4 separate regions of the Homo sapiens genome follow, and all the other regions are linked to region 4. The links are contacts of gene promoters, found by promoter capture Hi-C in human tissues and cell types (Jung and others, 2019). All regions are on one chromosome and are shown on one strand. Each heading gives the region's core, a stretch centred on a gene start or on the middle of the fragment in contact. The rest is flanking DNA. Distances are from core to core; before and after follow the strand shown.

The links. The method cuts DNA at HindIII sites, captures the fragments that hold promoters and counts their contacts. A contact is called where the count stands out against the background at its distance.
Region 1: the fragment with the promoter of ARF4 here is called in contact with the fragment with the promoter of FLNB in region 4 in 1 of the 25 tissues and cell types used here (heart right ventricle).
Region 2: a fragment that was not itself captured here is called in contact with the fragment with the promoter of FLNB in region 4 in 1 of the 25 tissues and cell types used here (hippocampus).
Region 3: a fragment that was not itself captured here is called in contact with the fragment with the promoter of FLNB in region 4 in 1 of the 25 tissues and cell types used here (dorsolateral prefrontal cortex).

What each region holds. Positions count from the first base shown.
Region 1 is chr3:57,595,924-57,599,125 of GRCh38, reverse strand. ARF4 (ARF GTPase 4) reads left to right here and starts at 1,782. Exons shown (of 6, transcript NM_001660.4): 1 at 1,782-2,052. The coding sequence starts at 1,986. It overlaps ARF4-AS1 (ARF4 antisense RNA 1), which reads right to left and starts at 1,337. Exons shown (of 2, transcript NR_132370.1): 1 at 1,075-1,337. It also overlaps a transcript of PDE12 not described here. RefSeq lists enhancers at 759-1,464, 979-1,538, 1,559-1,808, 1,819-1,888, 2,079-2,128 and 4 more. The HindIII fragment of the contact is 4,316 bases long and covers 1-3,138 here.
Region 2 is chr3:58,493,756-58,496,762 of GRCh38, reverse strand. The region is part of intron 1 of KCTD6 (potassium channel tetramerization domain containing 6); the gene reads right to left. Among named protein-coding and RNA genes, the nearest start is that of KCTD6, 3.2 kb to the right of the region's middle. The HindIII fragment of the contact is 5,212 bases long and covers 1-3,007 here.
Region 3 is chr3:57,561,694-57,564,804 of GRCh38, reverse strand. It overlaps PDE12 (phosphodiesterase 12), which reads right to left. Exons shown (of 3, transcript NM_177966.7): 3 at 1-3,111. Among named protein-coding and RNA genes, the nearest start is that of PDE12, 7.0 kb to the right of the region's middle. The HindIII fragment of the contact is 8,870 bases long and covers 1-3,111 here.
Region 4 is chr3:58,006,641-58,009,780 of GRCh38, reverse strand. It overlaps FLNB (filamin B), which reads right to left and starts at 1,359. Exons shown (of 46, transcript NM_001457.4): 1 at 925-1,359. The coding sequence starts at 1,216. The HindIII fragment of the contact is 12,217 bases long and covers 1-3,140 here.

The sequences.
Region 1 (3,202 bases), core at 533-3,032, 410 kb after region 4:
TCATCTTACATATATTGATTGATGTCTCATTTCTCCCTAGAATGTATAAAACCAAACCGTGCTCTGATCACCTTGGGCACATGTCTACAAGACCTCCTGAGGCTATGTCATGGACGCGTGTCCTCAACTTTGGCAAAATTAACTTTCTAAATTAACTGAGGCCTGTCTCATATTTTGGGGGTTCACAAAAGGATACAAGAAGGTCTTGTCACTTAGCAAGCTTCCAAAATGCAATTTTGAGTTATTCAACTGCTAAGCAACTCTTTACATGTATCTCCAATGCAAAGGAGGGTACTTCTGAGTAAAGAAGTTTTTGGGGTTTTTTTGTTGTTGTTGTTTGTTTTTTTAAGACAGTCTCGCTCTGTCGCCCAGGCTGGAGTGCAGGGGCGCGATCTCCGCTCACTGCAACCTCCGCCTCCCGGGTTCACGCCATTCTTCTGCCTCAGCCTCCGGAGTAGCTGGGAGTATAGGCACCCGCCACCACGCCCGGTTAATTTATTCTATTTTTAGTAGAGACTGGGTTTCACCGTGTTAGCCAGGATGGTCTCGATCTCCTGACCTCGTAATCTGCCCGCCTCGGCCTCCCAAAGTGCTGGGATTACAGGCATGAGCCACTATGCCCGGCCAGAAGTTTTTGCTTTTAATTGCCCAGGGCCACTCCTAAGAAATAACAGTCTCTGAAGGGTAGATAAGGTAGTGCTACCAAGAGAAGCGTTACTCAGCAAGCCTTCAAAAATATAAAAATAACTTACTGTTTCTGAAAGTTTGCAAGTTTTTCTTATTCAACCCCATCCTATGGAAATATACCAGTTGGAATAAGCAACTACAGAACCACATAGGACGGCACTACTAGAAAAATAGATTAAATCTTTATCCTGGCAATGAGTCTAATACATTTATCATTGCTGTGAATTTTAAAAGGTGTAGCAGGCCGGGCGCGGTGAGTCACCGCGCCAGGCCCGATCATAAACACTTTTAAAGTGAAGAGGCTTTCCGCTTCCTCAACATAAGGAGTAAATCTTTAATGCTGCTTCTAGGAAAAAAAGTACAAGAAAAGCAAGACTTCCTCCTTGCCTTCTCTTTAAAAAGCAACAGCCGATGAACACGTGTTGGAGCGCTCTCGCCTTGACAGAATTAGAGATCTTCAGAATCACTTGGCGTGGTGGTCGAAGCGTCTAGCCCTAGCTCATTAGGGTGCCACAGTTTCTCGGCCCACAAGTCAGCTTTTAACCACTTTTCTCCGCAAAAGACCGGACCGGTCTTCATGCGTCAACTAAAGCAAGCGTCTGGTCCCGTGTGTGAAACGTGTAAGTTCATGGCATCAGGGAATACCCATCGCGCGTACCGTAATAGAAGAGGGCGAGGTTCCTCACCTAACCCATAATGCTCAGCTCGCCTTTCCGGAAGCAAGGACTATCACCCCGACAATACCTTCATCCGGGCGGAAGCGTCTCACCCTGAGTCTGATTTGGCAGTGACGAAGCGAGGTATTGTGGGACTTTGTCCGTCTCCCAGTACGCATGTGCCTCAGCCGGCCTCTCCCGGCTCCTGGGGCCACGTCCGGGCGGTGGCGCCGTCGAGAGATGCTCGTCAGCGAAACTGGCCAATCCCCTGCAGGCGCAAGCGCAGTGGCTCGGGCGCACCGGAAGCGCAGGGGGATGGGGCGGCGGTGACGCGATTCTGTCCGCGTTGGAGGGGCCGGGCCGCTGCTGGAGTCGCCGCGGCCGCCGCGTGACGTGGCACAGCCAGAGCCTAAAGGCTAGAGCCGGAGCTGCCGCGCCAGTCGCCTAGCAGGTCCTCTACCGGCTTATTCCTGTGCCGGATCTTCATCGGCACAGGGGCCACTGAGACGTTTCTGCCTCCCTCTTTCTTCCTCCGCTCTTTCTCTTCCCTCTCGTTTAGTTTGCCTGGGAGCTTGAAAGGAGAAAGCACGGGGTCGCCCCAAACCCCTTCTGCTTCTGCCCATCACAAGTGCCACTACCGCCATGGGCCTCACTATCTCCTCCCTCTTCTCCCGACTATTTGGCAAGAAGCAGATGCGCATTTTGATGGGTGAGTGAGGGGCTGCGAGTCAGGCGGGACCTGGGAAAGGCAGGGTCTCCACAATTGGGGTGGCCTCTGGGCCTGTTTTTTTCCTCCGCCCGCTGTGGTGGGGGAGGGGCGCCGGGTCGGGGGTCGGAAGGAATTCTTAAGGGGGAACAATGGAGCGGAGGGTGAGCGATCCCCCCCGCCCCCGATCTGTCGCCAGACGAGACAGGGACAGGGCTTCGGGCAAGATTTCTTTCTGGACTCGGCTTTTTCTCCTTGATCTTATTGAAAGCTGGACAACATTGGGCAGAGATGTGGGGAAAGCCAACTCTGGGAAGCAAACACTTGGCGAGGCCCTTTCTGGGGGTGCGATCTGCATACCTTCTTGCCCGGGTGTGGACAGCGGTCAGGAGGGAGGCAGAGCAACTCCAGCCTTTTCCCTCCCCTTCTGCGTTTCGTGTACAGTCCCTGCATACTCCATTGGTATGTAAGCCAGCGGCCACCCGGAGCCTGGAGCCGCCCGGGGCAGGAAGTTGCGGTGGCCAGGGAGCACCCAAGGTTTCCGAAGAGTCTGGAGTCCTTCAGCGCTCACTTTGCTAAACTTGGCCTTGCGCTGGATTCCGTTTCAAGTTTTTCGCTCCTTGTTAATCTCATTCTCCGAAAACTGAGCTTATCTTCTATTTCTTTGACTATTTTCAAAAACTTTAAATGTGTTTGGTTTATTCTCCTAGGTTTTTAAGCTTATTTTTAGGCGGTCTAAGGTCTAATGCAAAAAAATTTTAGAAACGAATTTTTAAAAAATACCTGATAAATTTTCAAGTAACTGAACATCATGACGCTGAATTTTATGGTAGTCTTGTTAAATAGTAACTACAATTTTTTTAAAATTTCTTTTTAGAAAGTTGACTTTTTAAAAACTACTTTTTAGGGGGCGTGTTTTTGCTCAGCTGAGGGAGAAGGGCTGTCAGTTGGCTGAAGTAAGCAACCGCTCCCGGTTACTGTAAGCAGTCTACATCACAGCTGAGCTCCATGGACTAGAATAACGCTGAAAGAAGCCCCTCTAACTTTGAACGTTGAAACTTGTTGGTTCATTAGCTTGTTTTCTACCGGAGGAGGTTTTATTTTTCTCTTCCTTTTTTTTTTTTGCAGACGGAGTTTTGCTCTTGTCACCCAG
Region 2 (3,007 bases), core at 41-2,540, 490 kb before region 4:
AGACAATCTTTGCCCTCATGGAGCTTTCCATCTATAATGGAAGGCAACATGCAATGACTGAAGTACAGAACAGAATTCAAAGTGCTGTATAACAGATGGACCAGCAGAGGCCCGTGAGAGGGGAAAAGCAAGATTTCAAATGGGAAATAGAGGACTTCTGGGAAGAGCCCATTCAGTTGAATCCTTGAAAGAAAATTCGGACAACCTGAGAAGGGATTCTAGAAGGAAGAAACAATTTAATAGACAGGGGCATGAAAGACTTTTTTTCCCCCTACAACATTCCTGATACCAGTAGGCCGAGCAGGGATTACTATCCTCATCTTAAAGATGCAAAACAGAGAAACAAGGCAGATTAAGTGACTAGCTGAGGGCGCCACAGCTGGGAAGTAACTAGATAAGAACTTGCATGTTCTGACTCTTAGTCTAGATTTTTCCATAAATCCCCTCCTAGGGTAGAAATTGAAAGAACAGAATCCAAGAGACAAGAAATTGAAAAAGCTTAACTTTAAACTCTCTATAGCCATCTATTAACCCTATCCATCCAGTAGGGTTTTATTTACAAATTTTACAGTAACTCAGCCTAACTAAACAGTCATAATGGGTTTGTAAAAATTCTCCTGAGGCCCCCCCACCAAAAAAAGGCAGGAACCCATTCAACTAGTGTGAATAACGGTTGCTGTCCTGTCTGTAGTGACATAAAGAACTCCAATCCGTGAATATCCAAATGATTAAATGAGAAACAGAAGATCAAAGACAAGGAAAAAAGCAGACATCAATGTTGCAGCCGTTAACGAAAAGTCTGTCCACTATTAACCCTTTTTTTCTTTTTTACTGCTAAATCAAAACAAGGTAACTTCTTGAGCAGTTATCTAAAAAAAAAAAAAAAAAAATTAGACGATGTCCCTGAATCTGTTCCACAGCAAAAGCAAAAGTTCCGGTACAAAGATGTAATGAAAGCTCACGCTTAATAATTCAGGAAAGCAATTATGGGAATCTACAGCCCATGTTTCTTAAAAACCACCCAAAAGCCTTCCTATACTTGTGTATAAGATACATCAAAATAAATTGAAGCAAAGTTACTATTAGTCACTTCCAATAACAATGAGTAAACTGTCTAAAGAAATCAAATTGTGCATTAAAGAGTTCAAAGGGAAAAAACAGTATTGATTAGTTTAAATTTTATCTCTACCTGCTTCTAAATATCTTCTGTGGAGATGCTTAAATACAGCAAGAAACAAACAAACAAAAAAAAAGCATGAAAAATTCCCTGTTATCCAATAGCTGGATAATGATCGGCTTCTGAATTCTGAATTGACGACCATTAGGAACATCTCTGAAACGATGCAGATGAATGAAATACAATCCCAAAGAATTTCCAGAATAGTTTCAATCTCTTCTACTGAATCATTTTCCAGAGCTACTAACAATTAGAAAATGATTCATTTGCTTTTCATCTTCTCTCCCTTCTGGCACAGTCTCCAGTGGAGGGCTTAATGAGAAGTTAAATGACCACAAGACAGGCAGCAGAAGGAAGATCTTGAAATGGGTATCAAATAGGCCTATTTTACTTGATGAAAGCAAAGAAATATCTAATATTTCAGAAAATCTACCAGGAATGGTAACAATAAAAAATTTTTCCTTTATAGTGACTTTCCTTACTAAAACTAAAGATGGTTTTGAAAGACAGCAAATGCAACCGAGCACAAACAGCTATAAAATTCAAAGAAGCCTCTGACCCTGAAAAATCAGTTCACCTGAAAAGATGTAACCTTTGATGCAAATAAAATTCTTGTGAAAACAACACTGCCCACTCCCCAAAGAATATAAAGCAGTGCTGAAAATTCAACCATGTTTAAGCTTCAAAGGTTATTGTGACTAATGTATAAATTCTGACAGTGTCATGTTAGCAGGTAATTAAGCTTAAGAAAACACATACTGAAGAATTTATAGAAACCTTAAAAGGAAGTATTAATTTTCTAAAGTAGCATATCTGAAGAAATGCATACATAATTCAGTAAGTTAATAACTTAAAAAAATAACCTAAGAACCCTTAAATGCCATTCTCCCTATCACTGCAGAATTGCAATTACAGGCCTAATGGTTATGATGAACTAACTTAACAAAAATATTCTGGGTTTATCATTCCTGCTATAGATTAAGAATTCTCCGGGGCAAAAGTCCTAATCCTATATAACTACCTATATGTTGCAATAAAAACCTCCAACGAATAATAAAAAACTCCAACTACTGACTTCCCAGAGTTTCCAGGCAGCCCTTTAAAAATGCTTTTTTACTGAAACCTTCGTGTCTGGTAGTCAGAAAAGACTCAATAAACTCCCTCTTTCTATACTTACCTTCAAAATTGCCTTGTATTGAGTTTTGCTCTTCTTGAAATGTGGGAGTTTGAAAGCGAAATACTTTTTATAGTAACTAGTTCAGCGACATCTAAAGGAGTCTTTGGGGTTAACATTCACATACAGGCCAGCATAAGTAGCCAGGCATACAAGGATAATGTGATTATGGTTAGATTATCCTTAACCATACCACTGCAGAAATGGATTTTTCTCTACAAGTAATCATTTTCTCTTTCTCCTTTCTCAACCATGTGGTCTAGAAGAGAGAAGCTATAGGTTTAAAAGTGACCTAATATTAAAAAGCTGTCACAAATAGTCACAAAATCATAACATTCCTCTTAACCCTCAGTTTCCGCAAGATAAAACGGGATAATACCACCTTCCCAAAACGGGGTAATTACACCATTTAGGCACAACACAAAGGCAAAAATTGGCCTATAAGAGTAACACATCAGGACAAGGAAAGAGAACAGGTTCCCAGGGAGGTCCTGTAGTTGAATTCTGCTCCGTTACTGATTATGAGACCCTGAGAAAATCACTCTTTATGCCCAGCTTCTTCTTTGGGGAAATGGAGAAAATAAGGGAGATCATGAATATAAAACCATCTGTAAACTAGCAAGTATTAGACAAATGTGAAAACATTAGTGGCAGCA
Region 3 (3,111 bases), core at 522-3,021, 450 kb after region 4:
GTCCCAGCTATTTGGGGAGGCTGTGGTGGGAGGATTGCATAAGCCCAGGAGGTGGAGGTTGCAGTAAGCCGTGATGGCACCAGTGCCCTCCAAGCCTGGGTGACAAAGCCAGACCCTGTCTCAAAAAAGAAAAAAAAAGTGTTTATATTATCCAGTATAAGAAAGCCAACTAAATAAAGCCTATCCATTTCCCCTACTGAACCATCTTCAATATATAAGGAACACAAATGGTATGAAACTAGCACAAATGCAACCTAGGAATACTTCAATACACTAAAAAAAAAGTACATCAATACTTCATGATAACATCATTAAAGTGAATTACTGGGCAAAATGGACTGTGTTATATAAATGCTTTGACATACATTCATTACATAAATTGGACAGAAGATAGAGATGAATAATTCAGTTTTCTGTGAAATTTTGCGGGGAAATTTTAAATTATGAGTAAAAATCTAACACTGACAGTATGAACATGGATTTTTGACAACCCAGAATTTGCTAGCATAGCAGATAGGTGAACAGATTTACTATATTTAAGATTATTTTGCCATTTATATATAAAATTAAAATTTAGGCCGGGTACCGTGGCTCATGCCTGTAATCCCAGCACTTTCAGAGGCTGAGGCAGGCAGATCACTTGAGTTCAGGAGTTCAAGACCAGCCTGGCCAATATGGTGAAACCCTGTCTCTACTAAAAATACAAAAATTACAAGCAGTACTGTATGGTTATTTTGAAGTTAGTGCTAAGAAGAAAAATAAAATCACGAAGTTAATACAGCTCTAGTATTTTTAACATTTAAAAAAGTACTTTCATATAAAGTGAGAACACAGAACTTATATATTACCCATGTCAGTTAAAGCTGTTAAAAATTGTCCTCCCTACCCCCTACAACATGAAATCTAGAGTGGTTTTTTGAAGACAGGGTCTTGCTCTATTACCCAGGCTGGAGTGCAGCGCACCTTGATCACAACTCACTGCAGGCTTGACCTCATGGGCTCAAGTGATCCTCTGGCCTCAGCCTCCTGAGCAGCTGGGACTACAGGCATGCACCACCATGCCTGGTTAATTTTATTTTTTGCAGAGATAGGGTCTCACAATGTTGCCAAGGCTGGTCTTGAACTCCTCAGCTCAAGTGATCCTCCTGCCTCAGCCTCCCAAAATGTTGTGATTACAGTCAAGAGCCACTATGCCTGGCCCTCTAGATAGTGTTGCCTTCCTGTACTATATTAAGCAAATTATTAAAATTCTCAAAACACTGAAATATTTTTTATTTGTGTTTAAAAAATTCATTTTCAGGGCTGGGGGAGGGATAGCATTAGGAGAAATACCTAATGTAAATGACGAGTTAACGGGTGCAGCAAACCAACATGGCACATGTATACCTATGTAACAAATCTGCACGTTGGGCACATGTACACTAGAACTTAAAGTATAATAATAAAAAAAGAAAAAAAGAAAGTTAGTTTTCAGTTATGGAAGGTTGGGCTTGTAATCTCAACTACTTGGGACGCTGAGGCAGGAGGATCATTTGAGCCCCGCAGTTTGAGGCTGTAGTAAGTTATGACTGCACCACTGCACTCCAGCCTGGGTAACAGTGAGACTCTATCTCTTAAAAAAATTATGCTGAGAATATTTTCTGAGTTGTCACATGGGTCTTGTGATAAACTAATAATGCAAACTTTTATTTTTCATTATATATAAATATTGGATTTATCCCAACCAAACTAGTTTGCAGGGAACCTCTGCCTTTATTTCACGGCTGGAGAATGAGATACAAAAGATGTCAATTTCCATCGTAAGAACTTTCCACAGTAGTGTTCTTTGGACATTCTCTCCCTTGTATTAGGCTCCTCAGAAATCTATCTCCAGACTGAAACCAGCACATTCTGATGAGATCATAGCTTAGTACTCAGAAAAATCACTACTCAGTGGAATTCTTGAAATTTTGAAACAACTGATTTTAGCATACAGAATTTCAAAAAGAACATACATTACAGCCAGAAACGATTGTTTGCTCATGAATTTTGATTATTGGCAGACACATTTGCTGTAGCGGCAACTGTGCAAGAGTTCATTTTAACAGAATAATATGTTCTGAAATACTCTTTTATAATCAATATAAAATTCTAGAATGTTAATTCCTATAGCAAGAACTTGTGACATTATAAAATGTGGTTTACCATAGAAAGTCGCTAGATTTCCCATGTTTTCTTAAAATTAAATGTACTAAAAAATCCAAATGTAATAGAAAAATGCAATCACATAGGTGCTTTAAACAGACATTTCTGAATAACACTGCATTCTAACTCATGAGTACAAAGAAATGTGTATGCTATTTATACATTTTCTTAGTGTTCCCTACCTTTGGACTCCAATCATTTTAACGTATCCGTATACTGGAGATTTGATCACAGTATATGGCACTTCACAATAACATTCCATGTCCTAATAATGTGAAATGCCTGTATACAATCTGAGTATATTGTTTAGTCAGAAAACATCAAAATTAAGGATATAGGACATGGAATGTCTGTTAAGTGCTGAGTTTTTCTGACTAGAGTTTAATCTAGCCAGTGTTAATGTGGAAGCTGTATGCTTTTTTCATGGGCATGTTCGAATTTTTTCTTTCAAAATGTTTCTCAACTTTTTGATGTGACACTTTGTTTTCTCCCAAGTCACTCTAAGGGTTCTATCAACATCTTTCTTTGAAAACAGCCCAAAAACATATTTTTAAAATGAAAAAAAAATTCACAAGAGAATCAAGATTTGGTTTTAATCTATTATTTACATATTTGTAAACTGCTGTTAAAATGCTCTCAAAAATGTTATTTAGGAAGGCACAATTTGGTAGCATCAATTTTTTATTTATAGTTTTTTCTAAACAAGATCCGAAGAAACTTCCACTTTAATTTTCCCCTTGGAGTACTTAAAGTACTTCAAGGTTCAATGTCAAATGCAGATAAAACCCCTTCATTTTCAAACTTACTAAGTGTTAACAATACATTTGATAGTGAGCAGAATATGAAAGTACAGATGTTATCAAAAGAGGAAATTCTTATGATACTAGGTTCAGAGATTAAAGAATTTGAAACAAGGGCTTTCATGAC
Region 4 (3,140 bases), core at 110-2,609:
TGGGAGAGGAGAGGAAAACAAAGCCTCCTTCTAACTGTTGCCCACTTCCTTCAGTTCTCAGCTGGGCCCTACTTGCTGACCTTGGACAGGTCAATTAACCCTCCGGACCCCCTTATCTGTAAAATGGGTCTAGCCTCACCCCAGATGGCAGGATGCGTAGGGACGGAGATAACTTAGAAGGCTGACGGTACACAGTGGACGCTAGTTGGGCTCCCTACAAGACAGCAATTACTGTTACCACCACCATCTCTAAATTATAACTTCGGCAGCAAGGAGTGGGTTCAACCTGCGGCGCGCGGCCAGAGCTGAGCTGGGAGCAGAGAGAGCGAGGACACACACCCGCGCCTACCCTTGCAACCTCGGGGCCCACACCCATTCCAGCGACGGCAGGGGAAGGTACCAGGTCTCTGTCTCCACCTGGGCAGGGAGGCCCCAGGCGCAGAGAACGGTTCCTCCTCAGGTCTCACGGCCCGGCCTCCGAGCCAACGCCCATTCAGCTGCCTCTGAGAGCACCAACCTGGGCGCAGCAGGGAGAGCACTCCGCGGAGCATCTGACCCTAGGGCCCGCCCCCGGGGACAGCGAACGAGGGTTTCTAGTCCCCTAGCTCCCATAGGGGCGCCCCAGGTGTAGAGAAATGCAACAACTCCACCTCTCCTCCTGTGACCCCAGCCCAAACCCTCAACCCTTAGCCAGCCAAAGGTGCACTGCTGGGGCGGATGGCGGGGAGCGATCACAACAGGTCCCATCCCAGGGGAAGACACCGGGGAGGGGGTCTAGGCCCCCTATAACCCACCCCTGGGGACGACTCCCCCTTATCTCCGAGGTGGGGGCGCGCTGCGGGAAATCCTCGCCCTCCGCAGGGGTGCACGCGCGGGGGCGGGTCGGCACCACAGTGGGCGCCTGGGCCCGGCCAGAGAACTCACCGATGGACACGAGCTTGATGCTCTCACGGTCCAGGAACTCGAGCGCCACGGACACATTCTCGAGCTGCATCTGGCGAAAGGTGGGCCGCTGATGGTACTTGCGGTACATGCGCTTCTGGCTGAGCACCTCGAGCAGCGCGATGAGCCGCAGCCCGTCGCTCAGGTCGGTCTGCAGGTTGCCGATGCGTTTGTTCACGCACTTGAGGTGCTCGTTGCACCAGCGTGTGAACGTGTTCTGCTGGATCTTCTTCCAAGGCGCGTCCTCAGCTAGATCCTTCTCGGTTACCGGCATCCTGGTGGCGGGGAGAGCGCAATGCGCAACGAGCTGCCGGGGACTGGTGTTTGGAGGCCCAAGGGCCGAAGGAGCGAGAACCGAAGCGGAGCGGGAGCGGGGTTCGAACTTGCTGCTACCGGAGCCACGGCCGGTGCTGCTCTGCGGCCGCCCGCCCCTGGCCGCGCGAGGCGCCTGGCCCCGCGCCTGCGCGCTGAGCCGCCCCGCCCCCAAGCCCCGCCCCGTCCCGACCCTCCCGCGGGAGTTCCTGGGCCACGCTCGCCTCCTGCCGCCTGCCGCAGGCACTGCGCCCCACTGCGTCCTGGGACCCGCGCTCGAAGCCCACCACCCCAGCAGGATGTAGGGCTGCCTGAATCACCCGGTCAGCCCCGGGGTGGGGGGACCCGCGGGGGCTGGGAGCCGGACAGAATGGGTCGGGCCTCAGTGGGACTTGCGGGAGGGGCGCGCGGGGCGGAGGTCTTCATCCACATATAGATTGAATAAAATTCAGTAAGGGCTTTTATTGAGCTCCGCCTGTGTACCAGCCATTCTTCTCAGAGCCTGCTAACCAGTAGTAAATCAGACAAACGTATTGCACAACCTCAAGGAGTTCACACAGCCTAATGGAAGAGAAAAGTGTAATTCCACCATAACCAACAGCCCAGTAGTGGTGGTAAAAATGAACAATAAGGCTTGTTGCATGTCTTAGTTTCCAGTTACTGCTGTAACAAGTTACCAAAACTTAGTGTCTTTGAAAACACACACCCACAAATGTATTATCCTTCAGTTCTGTAGGTTCGATGGCCCACACAGGTCTTGCTGAGCTAAAAACAAAGTGTTGGCAGGATGCATTCCCTTCTGGAGGCTGTAGGGAAGAATCTGTTTCCTTGTGTTTTCTAACTTCCAGAAGCTGCCTGCGCGCCTGACTCCTGCCCCTTTTCTCTGTGAAAGCCTGCAATGGGCTGGGCACAATGGCTCACACCTGTAATCCCAGCACTTTGGGAGGCCAAGGTGGGTGGATCACCTGAGGTCAGGAGTTCGAGACCAGCCTGGCCAACATGGTAAAACCCCATCTCTACTTAAAATACAAAAATTAGCCAGGTGTGGTGGCGCGTACCTGTAATCCCAGCTACTGGGAAGGCTGAGATAGGAGAATCGCTTGAACCTGGGAGGCAGAGGTTACAGTGAGCTGAGATGGTGCCATTGCACTCCAGCCTGGGCGACAGAGCAAAACTCCGTCTCAAAAAAAAAAAAAAAAAAAAAAAAAACAGAAAAGCAAGCCTGCAATGTCAGGTGGAGTCTCTCAGACCTCAGACAGTCCTCTCTCCATAGGCACATCTTCCTTTTTTTTTTTTTTCCTGCGATGGAGTCTTACTCCGTTGCCCAGGCTAGAGTCCAGTGGTGCAATCTCGGCTCACTGCAACCTCCTCCTCCTGGGTTCAAGCAATTCTCTTGCCTCAACCTCCTGAGTGGCTGGGATTACAGGCACCCGCCACCACGCTCCGCTAATTTTTGTATTTTTAATAGAGACGGGCTTTCACCATGTTGGCCAGGCTGGTCTTGAACTCCTGACCTCAAGCGATCCACCAGCCTCTGCCTCCCAAAGTGATGGGATTACAGGCATGAGCCACCTTGCCCAGCCTTTTTTTTGTCTCACTCCGTCTCCCAAACTGGAGTGCTATGACTCAATCTCGGCTCCCTGCAGCTTCAACCTCCCCACACCTGGCCCTTTTAAGGACTCTTAAGATGACATTGGGCCAGCTGGTTAGTCCAACATGATCTCCCTATTTTAAAATCAGCCGATTAAGAACCCTAATCCTGTTTGCAACCTTAATTCCCCTTTGCCATTTAAGGGAATGTTCACAGGTCCTGAGAGTTAGGATGTGAACGTCTTTGGGGGCTATTACTCTGCCTACCACAGCATACATTGAGCACTTACTCTGTA